5 separate regions of the Homo sapiens genome follow, and all the other regions are linked to region 1. Evidence: promoter capture Hi-C in human tissues and cell types (Jung and others, 2019). All regions are on one chromosome and are shown on one strand. Each heading gives the region's core, a stretch centred on a gene start or on the middle of the fragment in contact. The rest is flanking DNA. Distances are from core to core; before and after follow the strand shown. Region 1 holds the start of CIB3 (calcium and integrin binding family member 3). Region 2 overlaps EPS15L1 (epidermal growth factor receptor pathway substrate 15 like 1). Region 3 holds the start of CYP4F11 (cytochrome P450 family 4 subfamily F member 11). Region 4 overlaps EPS15L1 (epidermal growth factor receptor pathway substrate 15 like 1). Region 5 overlaps EPS15L1 (epidermal growth factor receptor pathway substrate 15 like 1).

The links. Contacts are between HindIII fragments. The study calls those that stand out against the background at their distance.
Region 2: a contact is called between a fragment that was not itself captured here and the fragment with the promoter of CIB3 in region 1, in 1 of the 25 tissues and cell types used here (spleen).
Region 3: a contact is called between the fragment with the promoter of CYP4F11 here and the fragment with the promoter of CIB3 in region 1, in 1 of the 25 tissues and cell types used here (adrenal gland).
Region 4: a fragment that was not itself captured here is called in contact with the fragment with the promoter of CIB3 in region 1 in 1 of the 25 tissues and cell types used here (spleen).
Region 5: a contact is called between a fragment that was not itself captured here and the fragment with the promoter of CIB3 in region 1, in 2 of the 25 tissues and cell types used here (lymphoblastoid cells and spleen).

Annotation. Positions count from the first base shown.
Region 1 is chr19:16,171,774-16,175,388 of GRCh38, reverse strand. CIB3 (calcium and integrin binding family member 3) reads left to right here and starts at 1,864. Exons shown (of 6, transcript NM_054113.4): 1 at 1,864-1,964; 2 at 2,193-2,227. The coding sequence starts at 1,914. The HindIII fragment of the contact is 31,728 bases long and covers 1-3,615 here.
Region 2 is chr19:16,420,872-16,424,486 of GRCh38, reverse strand. It overlaps EPS15L1 (epidermal growth factor receptor pathway substrate 15 like 1), which reads left to right. Exons shown (of 24, transcript NM_001258374.3): 10 at 3,011-3,168. Among named protein-coding and RNA genes, the nearest start is that of EPS15L1, 49 kb to the left of the region's middle. RefSeq lists enhancers at 2,974-3,577, 3,578-3,615. The HindIII fragment of the contact is 3,343 bases long and covers 411-3,615 here.
Region 3 is chr19:15,932,596-15,936,210 of GRCh38, reverse strand. CYP4F11 (cytochrome P450 family 4 subfamily F member 11) reads left to right here and starts at 1,682. Exons shown (of 12, transcript NM_021187.4): 1 at 1,682-2,000. The coding sequence starts at 1,803. The HindIII fragment of the contact is 18,991 bases long and covers 1-3,615 here.
Region 4 is chr19:16,393,311-16,396,925 of GRCh38, reverse strand. EPS15L1 (epidermal growth factor receptor pathway substrate 15 like 1) reads left to right here. Exons shown (of 24, transcript NM_001258374.3): 17 at 1,459-1,582; 18 at 2,925-2,975. Among named protein-coding and RNA genes, the nearest start is that of KLF2, 70 kb to the right of the region's middle. The HindIII fragment of the contact is 3,745 bases long and covers 144-3,615 here.
Region 5 is chr19:16,372,155-16,375,769 of GRCh38, reverse strand. The region is part of intron 22 of EPS15L1 (epidermal growth factor receptor pathway substrate 15 like 1); the gene reads left to right. Among named protein-coding and RNA genes, the nearest start is that of KLF2, 49 kb to the right of the region's middle. RefSeq lists an enhancer at 1-26. The HindIII fragment of the contact is 3,944 bases long and covers 1-3,615 here.

The DNA.
Region 1 (3,615 bases), core at 615-3,114:
TATCACTGCTCTCCAGCCTGGGTGACAGAGTGAGACCCTGTCTCAAAAAAAAAAAAAAGTCATCCTTGAGGCATCTTTCAAGCCTGATCAGGGTCACATTTTACAAGATGACTGCACAGATTTGGCAGAGGATGCTTGATGAGGCCGAGGCAGGAAAGCCTGCTGGGAAACATTGCAATAGTCCAGGCCAGGTAGAGAAAACACAGGTGAGACCCAAAGTGAGAAGGGCATGGAGGGCCAGGCTAAGAAATTTAGACTCTCAGATTCTCCACCCAAGAGGATTCTGGGCCTTAATAAAGTTGGTAGCTGCTACATTAGATCTGCCCTTTGGGCCGGGCGAGGTGGCTCACACATGTAATTCCAGCACTTTGGGAGGCCGAGGCGGGTGGATCACCTGAGGTCAGGAGTTCGAGACCAGCCTGGCCAACATAGTGAAACTCTGTCTCTACTAAAAATACAAAACTTAGCCAGGCGTGGTGGTGGGCGCCTGTAATAATCCCAGCTACTCGGGAGGCTGAGGCAGGAGAATGGCCTGAACTCGGGAGGTGGAGCTTGCAGTGAGCCGAGATCACGCCACTGCACCCTAGACTGGGTGACAGAGCGAGACTCCGTCTCAAAAAAAAAAAATACAAAAAAAATTAGCTTGGCATGGTGGACACCTGTGGTCCCAGCTACCTGGGATGCTGAGGCAGGAGAATCACTTGAACCTGGGAGGCAGAGATTGCAGTGAACCGAGATCACACCACTGCACTCCAGCCTGGGCAACAGAGTGAGACTGTCTCAAAAAAATAAAATGTAATAAAATAATAATGTCAATGCACACCCCAGAACTTCATCTAGCTTGTTCACCATTATGTTCCCAATGCAGTGATGCAATCATGGCTCACTGCAGCCTCAAACTCCTGGGCTCAAGCAATCCTCCCACCTCAGCCTCCTGAGTAGCTGGGACCACAGGCATGCACCACCACATCCAGCTAATTTTTGTATTTTTAGTAGAGATAGGGCCTTGCCATGCTGCCCAAGCTGATCTTGAACTCCTGGCCTCAAGTGAATCTCATGCTTTGTCCTCCTAAAGTGCTGGGATTACAGGTATGAGCCACCTCGCCCAGCCAAAACCTTTTTTTTTTTTTTGGAGATGGAGTCTTACTCTGTCACCCAGTCTGGAGTGCAATGGCGGGATCTCGGCTCACTGCAACCTCCACCTCCTGGGTTCAAGCAATTCTCCTGCCTCAGTCTCTGGAGTAGCTGGGATTACAGGCATGTGTCACAATGCCAAGCTAATTTTTGTATTTTTAGTAGAGATGGGGTTTTGCCGTGTTGGCCAGGCTGGTCTTGAACTCCTGACCTCAGGTGATCCGCCTGCCTGGCCCTCCCAAAGTGCTGGGATTACAGGTGTGAGCCACCTTGCCCAGTCAAAACCTTTTTTTTTTTTTTTTAAATCTCAGATCCTGAGAATGACCCTATGAGGTAGGTATAATGTAATTTTCATCTCATGAATGAGGTTCAGAGAAGTCAGGTGACTTGCCCAGGGCCACACAGCTAGTGGGCAGAGAGCTGGGATTTGAGCTGCAGTGTGCCCATAGCCCTTCTGTATACCCTGCCTGTCTCTTGAGTGTGCCCCATAACCCCAGCCTCACCTTGTGGTGGCAGATGTGGCCTCCCCACTGAGGTCTTCTCTGTGACATCCCACAGCCCTTATCCTTACCCATGGACACATTCAGGCTGTTGTCCAGAGAGCCTGGCTGTAATTTGAGTCTCATCAAGCAGGGGGTGATGGCGTAGGTGGGTGGGTGACAGCCAGGGCAGGGAGATTTGCCCAGACACTGGTACACAACAGCCTGGCAACCCGTGTGGCCCCGAGGAAGCTGGGAGCCTTTGGGGTGCATCCCCAAGTCTGGGCTGTGGTTCACACCATGGGCAACAAGCAGACAGTCTTCACACACGAGCAGCTGGAAGCGTATCAGGTAGAGGGGGGCAGGATGGGTCCTCAGTGGGTTTGACAACTTTGGTTCCGTGGTCTGGGAAATGGGAACAGAATGCCTTCATCTGGGTGTACCGTCCGCCTGGGTTCCTGGTTCTGCTCTGTGTGTGGCAGCATCAGGCCATCTGTGTGAGTGTGGGGTGGAGGGAGGAGGCCGTGGGAGGAGGCCCCAGAGGCAGGGTTCGGGTTAAGACAACACCTCTCTCCACAGGACTGCACATTTTTCACAAGGAAGGAGATCATGAGGTCAGTCCAGGGAGGAAGGGAGAGAAGATCTGGAAAAACAACTTTCTATTCATTGCTGGAGGATATTTGCAATTTGGTGTGTGTGTGTGTGTGTGTGTGTGTGTGTGTGTGTGTGTGTGTAAGTAGTCTTTCTTTCTTTCTTTCTCTTTTCTCTCTCTCTCTCCCTCCCTCCCTCCCTTCCTTCCTTCCTTCCTTCTTTTCTTTTTTTTTGAGACAGGGTCTGTCTCTATTGCCTGGGCTGGAGTGCAGTGGTGCAATCATGGCTCATTGCAGGCTCGATCTCCCAAGGTCAGGTGATCCTCCCACCTCAGCCTCTCGAGTAGCTAGGACCACTGGTGCGAGCCACCACATGTACCTCATTTTTGTATTTTTTTATAGAGATGGGGCTCTCACTATGTTGCCCAGGCTGGTCTTAAACCCTTGGGCTCAAGCGATCCCCCTGCCTCAGCCTCCCAAAGTGCTGGGATTACAGGTGTGAGCCACCATGCCCAACTGGTATTTCCAATTTGTTGGGACTCAAATGGGGAAGGGGGGCAGGTGTGGTCAGTGGACAGAGGCAGAGATGGAGAAGCTGACAAGTCACATCTTGTCATACTGTCCCAGTCTCTAGGCTGATGAGCTTGGGCTTTCTCCCAAGGGTGGCAGGGAGCTATGGAGCATGCATGAGCAGGGGAGAGACCATCAGCACGTTAGAAAGATTCTCCTGAGGCTGGGCGCGGTGGCTCATGCCTGTAATCCCAGCACTTTGGGAGGACAAGGTGGGTGGATCACCTGAGGTCAGGAGTTTAAGATCAGCCTGGCCAACATGGTGAAACCCCATCTCTGCTAATAATACAAAAATCAGCTGGGCGAGGTGGTGGGTGCCTGTAATCCCAGCTACTCAAGAGGCTGAGGCAGGAGAATTGCTTGAACCTGGGAGGTGGAGGTTGCAGTGAGCCGAGATCACGCCACTGTGCTCCAGCCTGGGTGACAGAGCTAGACTCTGCCTCAGAAAAACAAAATGAAAGATAAAGATTCTCCTGAGACTGGGACTTGAGGCTGGGAGCCCAGGTGCAAAGTCCAGAGCCCAGTCTGGGTTGTGGGCTTGGCATTAAGATGAGGGTGTGAGGAGGTGGCCCAAGGCTGCTGCAGGTCCCTGGCGTGACCCAGCACGATGGGCACAGATGAGTATCCCACATCATCACTCGGCCTGTGGGGCCATTGCCCAGGGGCCCCGACCCATGAACTTGGAGCTATGAAACCCAAGCTGGCCAGGGTTCAGCTGCAGTGTGATCGGGGCCAAGGCCCCAGTTGTGTAGTAACAGGACATCCATTATTGATGGCCACACCTTTTACTAGTGAGCCCCATTGTTTGGGTGAGGACAGCTTGCAGGGTCACCTCGGCCATC
Region 2 (3,615 bases), core at 833-3,332, 250 kb before region 1:
AGGGGAGGTACTTTACTGGCAACGAAGCTAGTGGGGCCAAACTCACTGGTAGGCACAGGTCACCCAGCGTCATAACCCACCTCTCTAGTGATCTTCTGGTGGTTCTCTCAAGACCCTCTGACTAGACCGATTTTACCAGTGGCCCCTGGTGGGGTGGGGTGGGAGGGTATAGCTCCTGCCCCCACGACGGCATTGGTAGGATCACAGTCATGAAAACGAGCATTTCTGGGGGCCTACAGTCCACATGCTCCCCCTACTCCAACTTCCTCATCTCCAGGCCAGCAATGCTCTTGTCTGGGCCTCCCAAGGGCCACCCGATTTTGCCCTCATGCCAGGTTTGAGTGAAGCCACTTCCAGCCACCAGGGTCTGATATCCTTCCTTTGGGACCTGTGGCTGCTGAGCCGGCCTTAAAGCCCAGCTGTCACTGGGAGAGCCAGCTCCACGGCAAGGCTGCCCCGTGTTGGGTTTATAGTCAATTTGGCATCAGAATCTTGCTGCTAACATACTCTGAGGCTCCAGAAATCAGGCAGTGAGTTCCTTTTGTTTGCCCAGCAAGTATTATTAGGACTCTTGTCATCCCAGAGCTATAATTTCATACGTAATTTCTTCTTGGGACCCGTGGGACACAGAACCCCCCTTGTTTCTGTGTCCCGCCACAGCTCAGCTTGTCTGACTCCTGTTACCTCTTTGTGATCCCTGGCTTCTGAGGTTAGCTTGCTGTAGCTCCGTGACTTAAAAGGCAGCAAGCCCATTTCTCATTAGAATTCCTTTATTGGCATCTTTACGTCCACCAGACTTGAGAAGGCTCACAAAATTTACACAGTACAATGCCACAAGTAAAAATCAGGTTGCTCTTGCCATCTGAACTCTCATCATTTGAATTAGATCCATAGATTTTTTTTTTTTAAATATATAAGAGACAGGATCTTGCTCTGCTGCCCTGGCTGGAGTGCAGTGGTGCAATCACGGCTCATTGCTATCTCAACCTCCTGGGCTCAAGTGATCCTTCCACCTCAGCCTCCCTAGTAGCTGGAATAGGTGGATGCCACCACACCTAGCTAATTTTATTTATTTATTTATTTTGTAGAGATGGGGTCTTGCTGTGTTATGCTGGCTGGTCTTGAACTCCTGGGCTTGAGGGATCCTCCTGCCTTGGCCTCCCAAAGTGCTGAGATTACAGGCATGAGCACTGTGCCTGGCCTAGCTCCATGGATTTTGATAAATTGTTTGATCAAGTCCTTGCTGTACTTCATCACACATACTTGCTACGTGAAACCCCTGAACTAAGCTGATCTGGGTCACATGGTATCCCTTGTTTCCCAAGCTTGCTTTCTGATTTCCCTGAGTTGGTATCAGGAGCCTGTTAGATTTGGACATCACAGGAGACTCGTTCATGAAGAGTAAACGAGTTTAACCATTGTTTCCCAGTCTTGACCATGAGTCCCTTCTCCTCAATCCTATGGACATCTTCGGGTTGTCAACACTGTGAGAACTCTTTGAGAAATCCCCCCCCCCTTTTTTTTTCCCCGAGACGGAGTCTTGCTCTGTCGCCCAGGCTGGAGTGCAGTGGCACAATCTCAGCTCCCTGCAACTTCTGCCTCCCAGGTTCAAGCAATTCTCCTGCCTCAGCCTCCTGAGTAGCTGGGATCACAGGTGCCTACCACCACACCTGGCTAATTTTTCGTGTTTTTAGTAGAGAGGGGGTTTCACCATGTTGGCCAATCTGGTCTCAAACTCCTGGCCTCAGGTGATCCACCCACCTCAGCCTCCCAAAGTGCTGGGATTATAGGTGTGAGCCACTGCACCCAGCCTAAGAAATCCTTTCATAACTGAGAGGAATGACTTTGAGTGGCAGTTTCAGGCATCATGGCGTTCATTGAAGGTGAGGAGTGGAGTGGCTTTTCTGTACAGTTGCTGCGTGGAGAAGGAACAATCGATCCCTCCAGCCACATTTGCCTGTCCTTTTTCTCTCCACTCCCTCATCATCTAGATAATTCAATCAGGTGTTTATTCTCATTGCTATTATGAGATTGTTTAAAAGGAGTGATTTGTGTAAATATTTAAAAAAAAAGGGAAGAGGAAAAGCACGTCTAGAGTTCAGGACACAGATGCCGTGAACTGTGGCGTGGTGGGTGTATTGAAGGCCCGCGGTAATGCAGGTGGAGTAGGCCACGGAAGGGGCCTGCCCCTGAGTGCCTGAGGGGCCTCAATGCCTCTGAACCAGGAGGTGACCGGGCCCTGGTTGACCCATGATGGCGTTTGCCTCTCTCAAGTTAACTGTGAGCTGGTGGCGAGAGGGGTCGCACGTGCAGCGGGTGACCCAGCCCCAGGGCTGTGAACTTTGAGCTGCACTGGGCTCGTGGCTCCATCTGCCCTGGTGGGGTTGGGGCTGCATGAATGTTGGTGGGGCCTCGTGGGTGGTGGCCCTCTTGGATGGTGGTGTCTCATTTGTTACCTGTCAGTGACGTGTGTGTACTCACACCTTGGGGGTATCTTTGTTGTCTCAGGAGTGGGGCAGGGACATAGAAGGGTGGTCTTCAGAGTCCTGGGACAGGACACTTTGGCTGCCTGTAGGGCAGCCTTTGCGGGCTGAGGAGTGGGAGGACCAGGGAGGCTGGCATGTGGCCGGGCCGGTTCTCCAGGGACGGTCCTTCCAAGTGGGTGCTCGGGAGGGTCTTTCCTGGCATGCTTGAACCCATCCCCTGAAGATCACAGCCTCCCTCACACCCTGGGTGGCAGGGTGGATGGACAAGGAGAGCGGGTGATGGGGTGGAGAGAGGTGCAGACTGGCATCTGGGTGAGCTTCACAGAGCCAGCCTCAACCTGTCTCAGCCTCAGTTTTGCCAGTTACAGAACAAGGATCACATCTGCCCTCTTGGCTCATGGAAGTGAGGAGAGTTTGATGCCAAATGTGCATGGAAGTGCTTTAATCGCCCCATCATCAAAAAGCATGTGTCTGGGGGTCATAAAAAGCTTCCAGATTAACTGTTTTGCCAAAAACTGTTTCAGCCAACAGTGAACTGGGTGGTGCCCGTGGCAGACAAGATGCGATTTGATGAGATATTCCTGAAGACCGACCTGGACCTGGATGGCTACGTGAGTGGCCAGGAGGTGAAGGAGATCTTCATGCACTCGGGCCTCACCCAGAACCTTCTAGCACACATATGGTAAGGCCGGACAGGTGGCAGTTGTGGCTGTGGGTGGCTCCAGGGGGCCTGTGGGTGAAGACTGTGGAGGGTGGTGGTCAGGGGGCCCCCTCCAGCCTGTCACAGGCTTCCGCTGTGTCTGGCGTCCTTTATTCTCCCTGGCCTGACAGAGGCTGAGCAAGGTGCACGTGCCAAGGCTCGAAGCCCGCGCTCCGTGACGGTCAGTTCACTGTCTTTCAGTAGGAAGGGCCTCTGGTCCGTCTTAAGTGCTCCCAGGCCATTTGCTTACACAGCTGGGCCCTATTCTTGCTGGCTGTGATGCTGGCTCTAACAGGAGGCCTGGACTTTGTCACAGCCGCCTCCGGGAGGTGCGGGCAGCAGGGCCTTGGAGCCTCTAGCAGAGTGGCCTGGCAGGGTGAGGGCGGGGGCAGGAGGCCCTGCTCTGGAAAGGCCAGTGCTTTGGCTCCT
Region 3 (3,615 bases), core at 433-2,932, 240 kb after region 1:
ACAGTTTATGAAGAGTACCCAGCACCCAGAGTAGGCACGCTTTATGTAGAGCACTTGACACACAGTAGGTGCACTTGACATAGATCACCAGGCACGTAGTAAACATGCTCTACATAGAACATCTGACACACAGTAGGTGTGTTTTATATAGAGCAGCAGGTGCAGAGTAGGTACACTTTACATAAGTTACTCCGCACAAATTTCACTTTATATAGAGGACCGAGAACAAAGAAGCAAGATTTTCTGTAGAGCGCCCAGCACACAGTGGACACACTTTTCATAGAGCACTTGGCACACAGTACACAACATGTATACAGAGTACCTGGCACATGGTAGGTGTGCTTTATTTAGAGTCCAGTACACAGTAAAAGAACTTTGCATATTGTCTTTTGCAAAGAGCAGAGACTGACACACAGCAGCTAAAGTGCTAGCTGCCAGCCCCTTCCCTTCACTCCCTCCTCAGAATCTTTCATCTGTCCCCATCTAAGGCCCATTTTCCTGTGATCCCTCCTCTGTCCCCCTCTAAGGCCTTATCTGACATCCCATTTCCCAGATGGGAAGCCTGAGTCCAGGAGGGGCTCACTACCCACAGTTAGGGCAAGGGGAGGGCAGAATAAGGACTCCACTCAGGGTCCCCCATCTCTGCCCTCCTGTCCCTGGCCCCATCCACTCATGGCCCCTCTCAGCCTTACCTCCCATCTCCCCTCTCTGTCCTCCTATGCTGAACCTAGCCTCCAGGTATTCTCCTCCAGCGGGGCTCTTTATCTCTAAAATCTGACCGGGTAATCCCCAGCACAGTTAGATAGTTTGTTCCTACTCCTGTCAGTCATGTCTCGACCCAGGCCCTGGGTTGCCTGGAGGCAGGACTTGAACTCCTGCCAGACTGTGAAGCCAGAGGCCAGGAGCTTCTGTCTCTGAATCTCCTAAGTCTGCACTGAGAAATGGTGCATGATGAACTCCTGGACCACATGTGGAGAGGAGCTCAGAACATGATCTGGCACAATGGTTGGCCTGGCCCCACTCTCTTGCCACCTGAACTCTCAAGTTCATGACTTTATCTGCCACACTCTTGCCTTGGAAGGGCAAGGTGGCTGTAAACTTTGGGGCTCAGAGTCACCTTTGACTCTTCCTCAAGATCCCCTCCCACTCAGGTGTGAGATGTTGAGACCTGCGGATCCTGTGCCCATGCTGTGTCACCCTGAGCTGGCTCCTCTGCACCCAGCTGGCCCTACGCCAGGTTTTGGTTGGTTGCCCAGGCTTGGAAGACACACCCAGTCCATGGGGATTGGCTCGACCAGCCCAGCCCAGCCTCGCCTCCCACAGCCTTCCGGAAATCAGGGGCCAGAGGCAAAGACCTCCTAGCAGAGGGGGAGAGGAGGGTATGTGGGACAAGCTGCTTCTGATAGGAGCCAGGCTGGCAGTGGCAGGGCTGGAGGGTCCTGGCCTGGGATGGGGAGGGGACTGCCCAAGGTTGGGGTGGGTCAAGGCTGCTGGCCTGGGAGACTGGTGATTTCCTGGTAACTGGACCCCTGGCAACCTCCCAGTGATTCAGGCTGGGCCTTTTTGGATTCTAATCAGCCTCTCTCTCTCTTTCCCTTTCTGTGTAACTGGAGGCCACTTGGCTGCTGGTTTTCATTGGGCATTTCTGGACTTTAGATCTCAGCTCTTGTTTACCCATCTCAGAGCCTTCCCTGATCTGCCTCCAGCACTGCCCATCCTTGCCCCTTTCCACTGTCCTTGGAGCTTCCTGGGCCCTTCCCTGGGCCTCAGGATCCCACCCTCCATCCCGTCTGCCCTGCAGGATGCCGCAGCTGAGCCTGTCCTGGCTGGGCCTCGGGCCCGTGGCAGCATCCCCGTGGCTGCTTCTGCTGCTGGTTGGAGGCTCCTGGCTCCTGGCCCGCGTCCTGGCCTGGACCTACACCTTCTATGACAACTGCCGCCGCCTCCAGTGTTTTCCTCAACCCCCGAAACAGAACTGGTTTTGGGGACACCAGGGCCTGGTGAGTTTGTCAGCAGGACGGGTCTGGGGTCTCAGGATGCATGGAGTTCCTGAGGGGCAGGAATGGGGCTCAGGGAGCTGGGTTTTGAGGGTGGCTGGGGTGTGGGAACACAGAGAAGAGAGGGAGGCAGCTCACTCATTCCTCTGCCCACTCACTCATTCCTCTCCCCGCTCACTCATTCCTCTGCCCACTCACTCATTCCTCTGCCCACTCACTCATTCCTCTCCCCGCTCACTCATTCCTCTCCCCGCTCACTCATTCCTCTCCCCGCTCACTCATTCCTCTCCCCGCTCACTCATTCCTCTGCCCACTCACTCATTCCTCTTCTCGCTCACTCATTCCTCTGCTCACTCACTCATTCCTCTCCTCACTCACTCATTCTTCTCCTCACTCACTCATTCTTCTCCTCACTCACTCATTCCTCTGCTCACTCACTCATTCCTCTCCTCACTCACTCATTCTTCTCCTCACTCACTCATTCCTCTCCTCACTCACTCATTCTTCTCCTCACTCACTCATTCTTCTCCTCACTCACTCATTCCTCTCCTCACTCACTCATTCTTCTCCTCACTCACTCATTCCTCTCCTCACTCACTCATTCTTCTCCTCACTCACTCATTCTTCTCCTCACTCACTCATTCCTCTCCTCACTCACTCATTCTTCTCCTCACTCACTCATTCCTCTCCTCACTCACTCATTCTTCTCCTCACTCACTCATTCCTCTCCTCACTCACTCATTCTTCTCCTCACTCACTCATTCCTCTCCTCACTCACTCATTCTTCTCCTCACTCACTCATTCCTCTCCTCACTCACTCATTCCTCTCCTCACTCACTCATTCCTCTCCTCACTCACTCATTCTTCTCCTCACTCACTCATTCTTCTCCTCACTCACTCATTCCTCTCCTCACTCACTCATTCCTCTCCTCACTCACTCATTCCTCTCCTCGCTCACTCATTCCTCTCCCCGCTCACTCATTCCTCTCCTCACTCACTCATTCCTCTCCTCACTCACTCATTCCTCTCCTCACTCACTCATTCCTCTCCCCACTCACTCATTCCTCTCCCCGCTCACTCATTCCTCTCCTCGCTCACTCATTCCTCTCCTCACTCACTCATTCTTCTCCTCACTCACTCATTCCTCTCCTCACTCACTCATTCCTCTCCTCACTCACTCATTCCTCTCCTCACTCACTCATTCCTCTCCTCACTCACTCATTCCTCTCCTCACTCACTCATTCCTCTCCTCACTCACTCATTCTTCTCCTCACTCACTCATTCCTCTCCTCACTCACTCATTCCTCTCCTCACTCACTCATTCCTCTCCTCACTCACTCATTCCTCTCCTCACTCACTCATTCCTCTCCTCACTCACTCATTCCTCTCCTCACTCACTCATTCCTCTCCTCACTCACTCATTCCTCTCCTCACTCACTCATTCCTCTCCTCACTCACTCATTCCTCTCCTCACTCACTCATTCCTCTCCTCACTCACTCATTCCTCTCCTCACTCACTCATTCCTCTCCTCACTCACTCATTCCTCTCCTCACTCACTCATTCCTCTCCTCACTCACTCATTCCTCTCCTCACTCACTCATTCCTCTCCTCACTCAC
Region 4 (3,615 bases), core at 767-3,266, 220 kb before region 1:
TTCTACTTCGTCACTGTGAATGTGATGACTCTAGGGTTCTCATAGAAGTGGAATCATACCTTGTGTGTTGTTTTGTGACTGTGATTTCACTCAGCAGCCTCTCCTCAAGGTTCTTCCATGTTGGAGCATGTGTCAGAATTTGCTTCCTTTTGAAGGCTGAATCAGATTCTGTTGTGTGGCTCGTTACAATTTTCTTGATGACATTTCAAATTCATTATTTTTTTCTGACTTAGAAAAAAATTTTGTTTTTCCGTTTATCCATTCATTCATCGATGGACATTTGAGTTGCTTCCACTCAATGATTTTTTAATGAACTTTTATTTTAGAATAGTTTTTAGATTTATGAAAAAATTGCAAAGATAGGCCAGGTGCGGTAGCTCATGCCTATAATCCCAGTACGTTGGGAGGCTGAGGTGGGAGGATCAGTTGAGCTCAGGAGTTCAAAACCAGCCCTGGCAACATAGTGAGAGACTTCATTTCTACAAAAAATATAAAAATTAGCCAGGCTTGGTGGTGCGCGCCTATAGTCCTGGCTACTCGGGAGACCGACGTGGGAGGATCACTTGAGCCCAGATGGTCAAGGCTGGAGTAACCCATGAGTGTGCAACTGCACTCCAACCTGGACAACAGAGTGAGACCCTGTTTCAGAAAAAGAAAAACTGCAAAGATAGTGCATAGTTCCTCTATATCCCACACCCAGTTCCTCCTGTTAGTCACATCATATATAGTACATTTGTCACAACTAATGAACCAGTATTAAACATTATTATTCACTCAAGTTCATACTTCTTCAATGATCTTTAATTAATTTTTTTTTTTAAAGATACAGGGTCTTGCACTGTTGTGGCTGGAGTGCAGTGGCACAATCATAGCTCACTGTAACCTCCACCTCCTGGGTTCAGGCAATCTCCTGAGTCAACCTCCCAAGTAGCTGGGATTATAGGTACACGCCACCACACCTTGATTTTTTTTTTTTTTTTTTTGAGATAGACTCACTCTATCGCCCAGGCTGGAGCGCAATGGCGTAATCTCAGCTCACTGCAACCTCCACCTCCTGGGTTCAAGCAGTTCTCCTGCCTCAGCCTCCCAAGTAGCTGGGATTACAGGTGCCCGGCACAACACCCAGCTAATTTTTTGTATTTTTAGTAGAGACAGGTTTTCACCATGTTGGCCAGGCTGGTCTTGAACTCCTGACCTCAGGTGATCCACCTGCTTTGGCCTCCCAAAGTGCTGGGATTACAGGCGTGAGCCACCATGCCTGGCCTCATTTTTAAATTTTTGTTTTTATAGAGATGGGATTTTGCTATGTTGCCCAGGCCAGCCTCGAACTCCTGGCTAAATCATTCTTTTTAGGGTCATGCTACTCAAAGTGGAAATGTGAGTTAAGTATGGAATTCCGTACTTTGCTTTAACTCAGAAATAATAAAATCCCTGTCCTGTTTCTTCACAAAATTGTAGGATGATCCTTTCAAAAATAAAGCCTTGTTATTTAGCAACAACACGCAAGAGTTGCATCCGGATCCTTTCCAGACAGAAGACCCCTTCAAATCTGACCCATTTAAAGGAGCTGACCCCTTCAAAGGTATCTCACTTGCTACCCACTTTCTCATTGAAAGACTGTGTGTTTTATGTCGAATTTAGAGTGGTTCTTCAACTAGAAAAGTAAGGACATGCCACAATCTGAAATGGAGGGGGAAAGGAATGCCTTTTTTTTTTTTTTTTTTGGAGACGAACTCTCGCTCTCTTGCTGTCAGCCAGGCTGGAATGCAGTGGCGCAATCTCGGCTCACTGCAACCTCCGCCTCCTGGGTTCAAGCAATTCTCCTGCCTCAGCGCCCATCACCGCACCCGGCTAATTTTTGTATATTTAGTAGAGTTGGGGTTTCACTGTGTTGCCCAGTCTGGTCTCGAACTCTTGACCTCAGGTAATCCACCCGCCTCAGCCCCACAAAGTGCTGGGATTACAGGTGTGAGGCACCGCACCCAGCAGGAACGCCTTTTAAGCTTCTTATCTCACCCTGTTAACCAGAGAGCCAAGGCATCAAGATACAGTGGGAAGTGTTCCAAGCTCACCACAAGACCCACATTTGAAGGCAGCTTGGCCAGCCCCCTTGAACCCTTCAGTACTTCAGTTTCCTAATCCCTCAGCAGGTTAATAAATTTCCTCCTTGCTCACCTCACAGGGTTGATAAAATAATCAGAGCTAGTAATGATCATGAAAGTACCTGGAAAACCATGGATTCCTACATAAACCTAAGGTCTGGATAATTTTAGGAGTCTGTCCAGAGCCACACCTGAGTCAAGAATAACTAAGAATTCCAGAAACAAGATTTCCAAGTTTCTGTCCATGTTTCAGAGCAAAACAGTATTTCCAGGAGGAAGGCTCTCTACATTTTTGAGAAAAACACTGAGGTGGGGAGAGGGCAGCGGGAGCTTGAGCTTCAGCTTGGGTTTGAAGCCTGCCGGGTCTGAGAGGCGAATCTGGCAGCCCCTGAAGCCCAGGGGTGCCGCCGCCTCATTGCTGCAGGGCCGGTGATAAAGTGAGGGACAGCCCAGGGTCCTGTGTCCTCTTACCCAGGGAGCTGGCAGGCAGATGGGATAAAGGAAACCCAGCATGGGAAGAGAGGAGTGAATTCTAGCCCACTCTGTGTCTTCCCCAACTCCAGTCTGTGTGGGACAGCCAGCAGTACCTTCCTTCTCATCTTAAACATCCTAGCCAGAAACAGCTGCCTCCTCCAGGTCCCCCTCTTTGATTTGCCAAGGTTTTGAGGGCAGGTGGATAGTAGAGAAGGAACTAACATTCTCTCCCTACACTGGAGGAGTAGAAGGCAATGAAAGGCTTGGGAGGTGGGTGGCTGTGTCCAAGGGCCCGGCCCGCATCCTGTGCCCTAGAGCTAATAAGCATTTCTCTCCTCTTCCAACCAGGCGACCCGTTCCAGAATGACCCCTTTGCAGAACAGCAGACAACTTCAACAGGTAAAATTCAGTGTTTCCCGGACCGGTCTTTAGACTGTGTCCAGTCCTGGCTCAGAAGTCGCATGTGGTGGGACTTGTGTCCACATACACCGGGGATGGCAGCCATGTAACTGGGAAGGACGGCCGTCCATCCATGTTGTACCCATTCTCGGTCCCGTTCCCTTCTGGAGGTGGCTCCCCTCCCCAGGTCCAGTCACTGCCCGCACCCCACCCTGGAGTGTGGTGGGATCACATTGCTTGCTAATTTATTTATTTATTTTATTTATTTATTTATTTATTTATTTTTTATTTTTTTTTTTTTTGAGACGGAGTCTCGCTCTGTCGCCCAGGCTGGAGTGCAGTGGCGCGATCTCGGCTCACTGCAAGCTCCGCCTCCCGGGTTCACGCCATTCTCCTGCCTCAGCCTCCCAAGTAGCTGGGACTACAGGCGCCCGCTACCACGCCCGGCTAATTTTTTGTATTTTTAGTAGAGACGGGGTTTCACCGTGTTAGCCAGGCTCGTCTCACACTCTTGACCTCAGGTGATCTGCCCACCTTGGTCTCCCAAAGTGCTGGGATGACAGGCGTGAGCCACCATGCCCGACCGATTTATTTTTTTTCAGGTGAAATTTATGTAACATAAAAGTCACTGTTTTAAAGC
Region 5 (3,615 bases), core at 590-3,089, 200 kb before region 1:
AAAAAGTATGACCAAGTATGGGCTGTGTGGATTTAGAGCAGATTTTCTGTGAACTGTTGAGCAGATACAGATGCGTAAAGAGATCATTTCTGTAAGCCACACATCAAAGACATTTACCATCAGGAGGAAAAACAAAACAACAAAGGGACTCCCTTCCATCTGCAAGAGGCCACCTGTGCCTTACACAGAGGCAGTGGCTCTTCAGGGATCCTTGTTGGCTTCCTGATGGAACGGCAGTGGGCCTCTTCACTCTGCCTAAAAGATGGGAGCAGAAGCACACACACACACACACACACACACACATATATGCATAATCACAATGCATGCACACAGCTGGCACACATGCATGTGCACATTCCCACGTGCGGCCATGTATTTTTATGCATGTATGTGCACGTACACGTGTATGCTCTTGCATGCACATGTGTACCCTGTGTACACACATCCTCCACGCCTGCAGACACATGCATGCATGCACCTGTTTGCACATGAACACACATGCATACAGGTGAGCATGCATTCACATACATACTGCATCACATGAGTATTCTCGCATGTGCCTGCATGTACGCATATGCAGGCACACACGCACTCTCCCATGCACCCCTCCGTGCACACTCTCCATGCTTATATGCATCTGTGGACATGTGTGCATATTCTCTTGTCAGTACACACATGCATGCATAGAGATGAGCAGCATGCACTCACATACTGCATTGTGCATGCCTGCACACACACATGCTCTCATAGATAACAGCTGGGCATGCACACCCTCCATGCTTATATATGTGCATGCATTCATTGAGACATGCACATATTCACATGTGAACATATACATGAATACAGGTGAGCATTACACAGATATTGCATAATGCATGCATGCAAACGTGCACACACATATGCGTGCGTGTGTGCTCATACACACCCGGGCATGCACACTCTGTGCTTACATACGTGTACACACATTTACACACATGTGCACGTATTCTCATATGGGTGCACACACTTGCCGAGCAGTGCCGTATTTGCTGGGCCCTGAGGAGGAGCCATCCCACTCAACAGCTCACAGGTGCAAAGCTTCATTTTCAGTGTTTCATGGAAACCGCCACCCCCGCCTCCCCACGTACCTAAACCCGGCGCTGGGTCTGCTTTTGAACTTTCCCTCAGTTATCACCTCCCATCGTGTCTCCCTCTGCAAGCCTACCCACCCCACCTTGGCTTCTGCTGTTAGTGTACTGTGGGCTTCGAAAGCAGAAAAGAATGCTTGTTAAAAGTAGAACGTTTGATAACGGGAGTTTGGGTGACTTCCTTGGGCCTGGCTTCAGGGTTCAGGCTTTTTAGGGAGCTGTTGCACAATTTGAGACCCAGGGGGTCCTGGGCTCCTTTACTCGTGGCACAGGCCACTGCATCTTTGTTCTGCTGTGGTTGATGGTTGCTGTGCCACTCGGTGCTCTGCAGAAATATATTAACATTGATGGGCCCTTAGGAAGTGCTTGAACAGTTCTTATCTCACTAGGTCCCAGCAAGACCCGTGAGGGAGACAGGCCAGGCCATGCCCATTTCCTGGAAGAGGAAAGGCGGGGAGGGAGGTCATGGGGGCTCCCCAAGGTCACACAGCAAGGTGGCAGCAGGGCCAGGTCTACACCCAGTGACCTGCCTCCTGCCCCAAGACAGGAGTAACGAGAACCAAGCCATGAGCTTCAGAACATTCTCTAAAACAGCCAATGCACGCGCAGCATTTTAAGTCCGGAGCAACTGCAGATCTGTGTGGAGGCCTAAATATTTCTCATTTGATTCTTTTACCCAGAAGCAATGGCTGAACAGAAAAATTCTGCATTGTACTCGCTGCTGGGTGGTAGGTACAGACCGTGTGGTGGTTGCCGTTTGAGCTTGCAGCATTATTTGTGCTGTGATTCCGTACTAACCTCTAACAGTCCAAACACTGAGTTGACCCAGTGGTTGACCTTTGGTGAGTCACATGTTGGGGAGAAGTGTTTGGCTCTTTGGGGAATTGCAAAGGAAGATGCTTGCCCTACCCTTGCTCTCTGGTCAAGGGAATCAGAGCCGGGCTCTGTACAATTCCCTTCCCGGTTCCTGGCCACACGGCACAGACCCACGTGCAGCCCAGGAGGCCTCTGGTTATGGGCAAGAGCGGTCAGCAGATGAGTGTCGGGTGAAGTCGTGCTCAGAAAGTTCGCCAGGAAGACACAAGGCAGATCTCTTGTTTTCTTGGCTTCTTTAAGACAGAAGATAGTGAAGCTAATCTGTGAATTTTTTTTTTTTTTTTTAAGCATAAAGTCCAACGTTTTCAAACTGCTGGACTTTATGTTTTCTTAAAACAAACAAACAAACCAAAAAAAGCCTTTCTGCCTTTCTTGCTACCCCAGGCTTTTTCTGCTCAGGGAGACCACACGGCCAGCACACAGTGACGGCCGCCTTCCCCTGGCCACCCCAGGGCTTCCCAGATGCTGGGGCTTTGCGCGAGATGCGTGGGTCCCAGCGTGGCTGAGTGAGGAGGAAGGTGAAATGCGACCCCCTGTGAGCCTGGCGGTCGAGCCTTGAGCTGGTGGAGATAGACAGACTGACAAAAAGTCTGAAGGACCCATAGGCTGTCCAGTGGGCAGTCTTAAACATGCACACAGCGTTGACACCTGCACTCATGGAAATCACAATGAAGGAACAAGCTTTTCTGTCATCTCTCCGCCTGGCACATGGAACATGTCTGATGTCCCATGCTCCCATCCAGGGTTTGTCCATCCCAGGGCACCCAGAGGTTTCTAGAACCCTGCTAGGCCTCTGTGCCAGGAAATGGCTGATGTGTGAGGCCAGGACAGGAGAACTGAGGCCGCTTCCTTCTGTCCTCTGGGCAGCCAATTCTGCTAGAATCCAGGGGACTGCTTGATCAGGCTGGTTTCTGGACATTGGAGGAAAGGGAGGCCCCGGGTGGGTCACTTAACCTCCCTGAGCCTCAGTTTTCCTGCCTGACCATGGGACCCACTCAGGCCTAGCAGGTGGGTGTGTGGGTGAAGCGCCTTGCACGGTGACGTGCTGTATGTGGTCTGTAGCCCCCATCCCCACCCTGCGGCACAGGGACCGGGACGCAGGCTTCTGCCATATGGGCACCTTTTCCAGGAAAGACAGGCTGGGCAGCTGAGGTGGCTGCACACATTCTGGGAGTCATTAATTGGGCCCTTTTCTCCCTGTGAGGTCACAGTTTAGTGGAAATCTTTTCCGTTAAAAAAAGCGTGCAGGGAGTTGAACTTCAAAGAGGGCTCCAGCGTCCTCTGTGGGTCATCGCTCATACAGGACCAAATGTGAGTTTGGGTCTGAGTCACGTGTGGCTTTGGTGCCATCTCTTGTGTTCTAGAGGCTGCAGTTTTCAAATTCCGTGGGAGCTGCTTGTCTTATTTTGTTTAAAGGTCAATTGAGGTGAAATTGACATTTGGTGTGGCTGGCATGCAGTGTGGGTGCACGGGCAGACAGGTGTTGACCTGGACAGTCACAGGTGGACCCCTCCACCTGGGAACCTGCAGAGGTTCCTCGAGGGAGAGTTCCGGTCACAGCGTACAGCTGAGTAGCCCACAGTTGGCCATCTGCCCTCAAGGCCACATACTC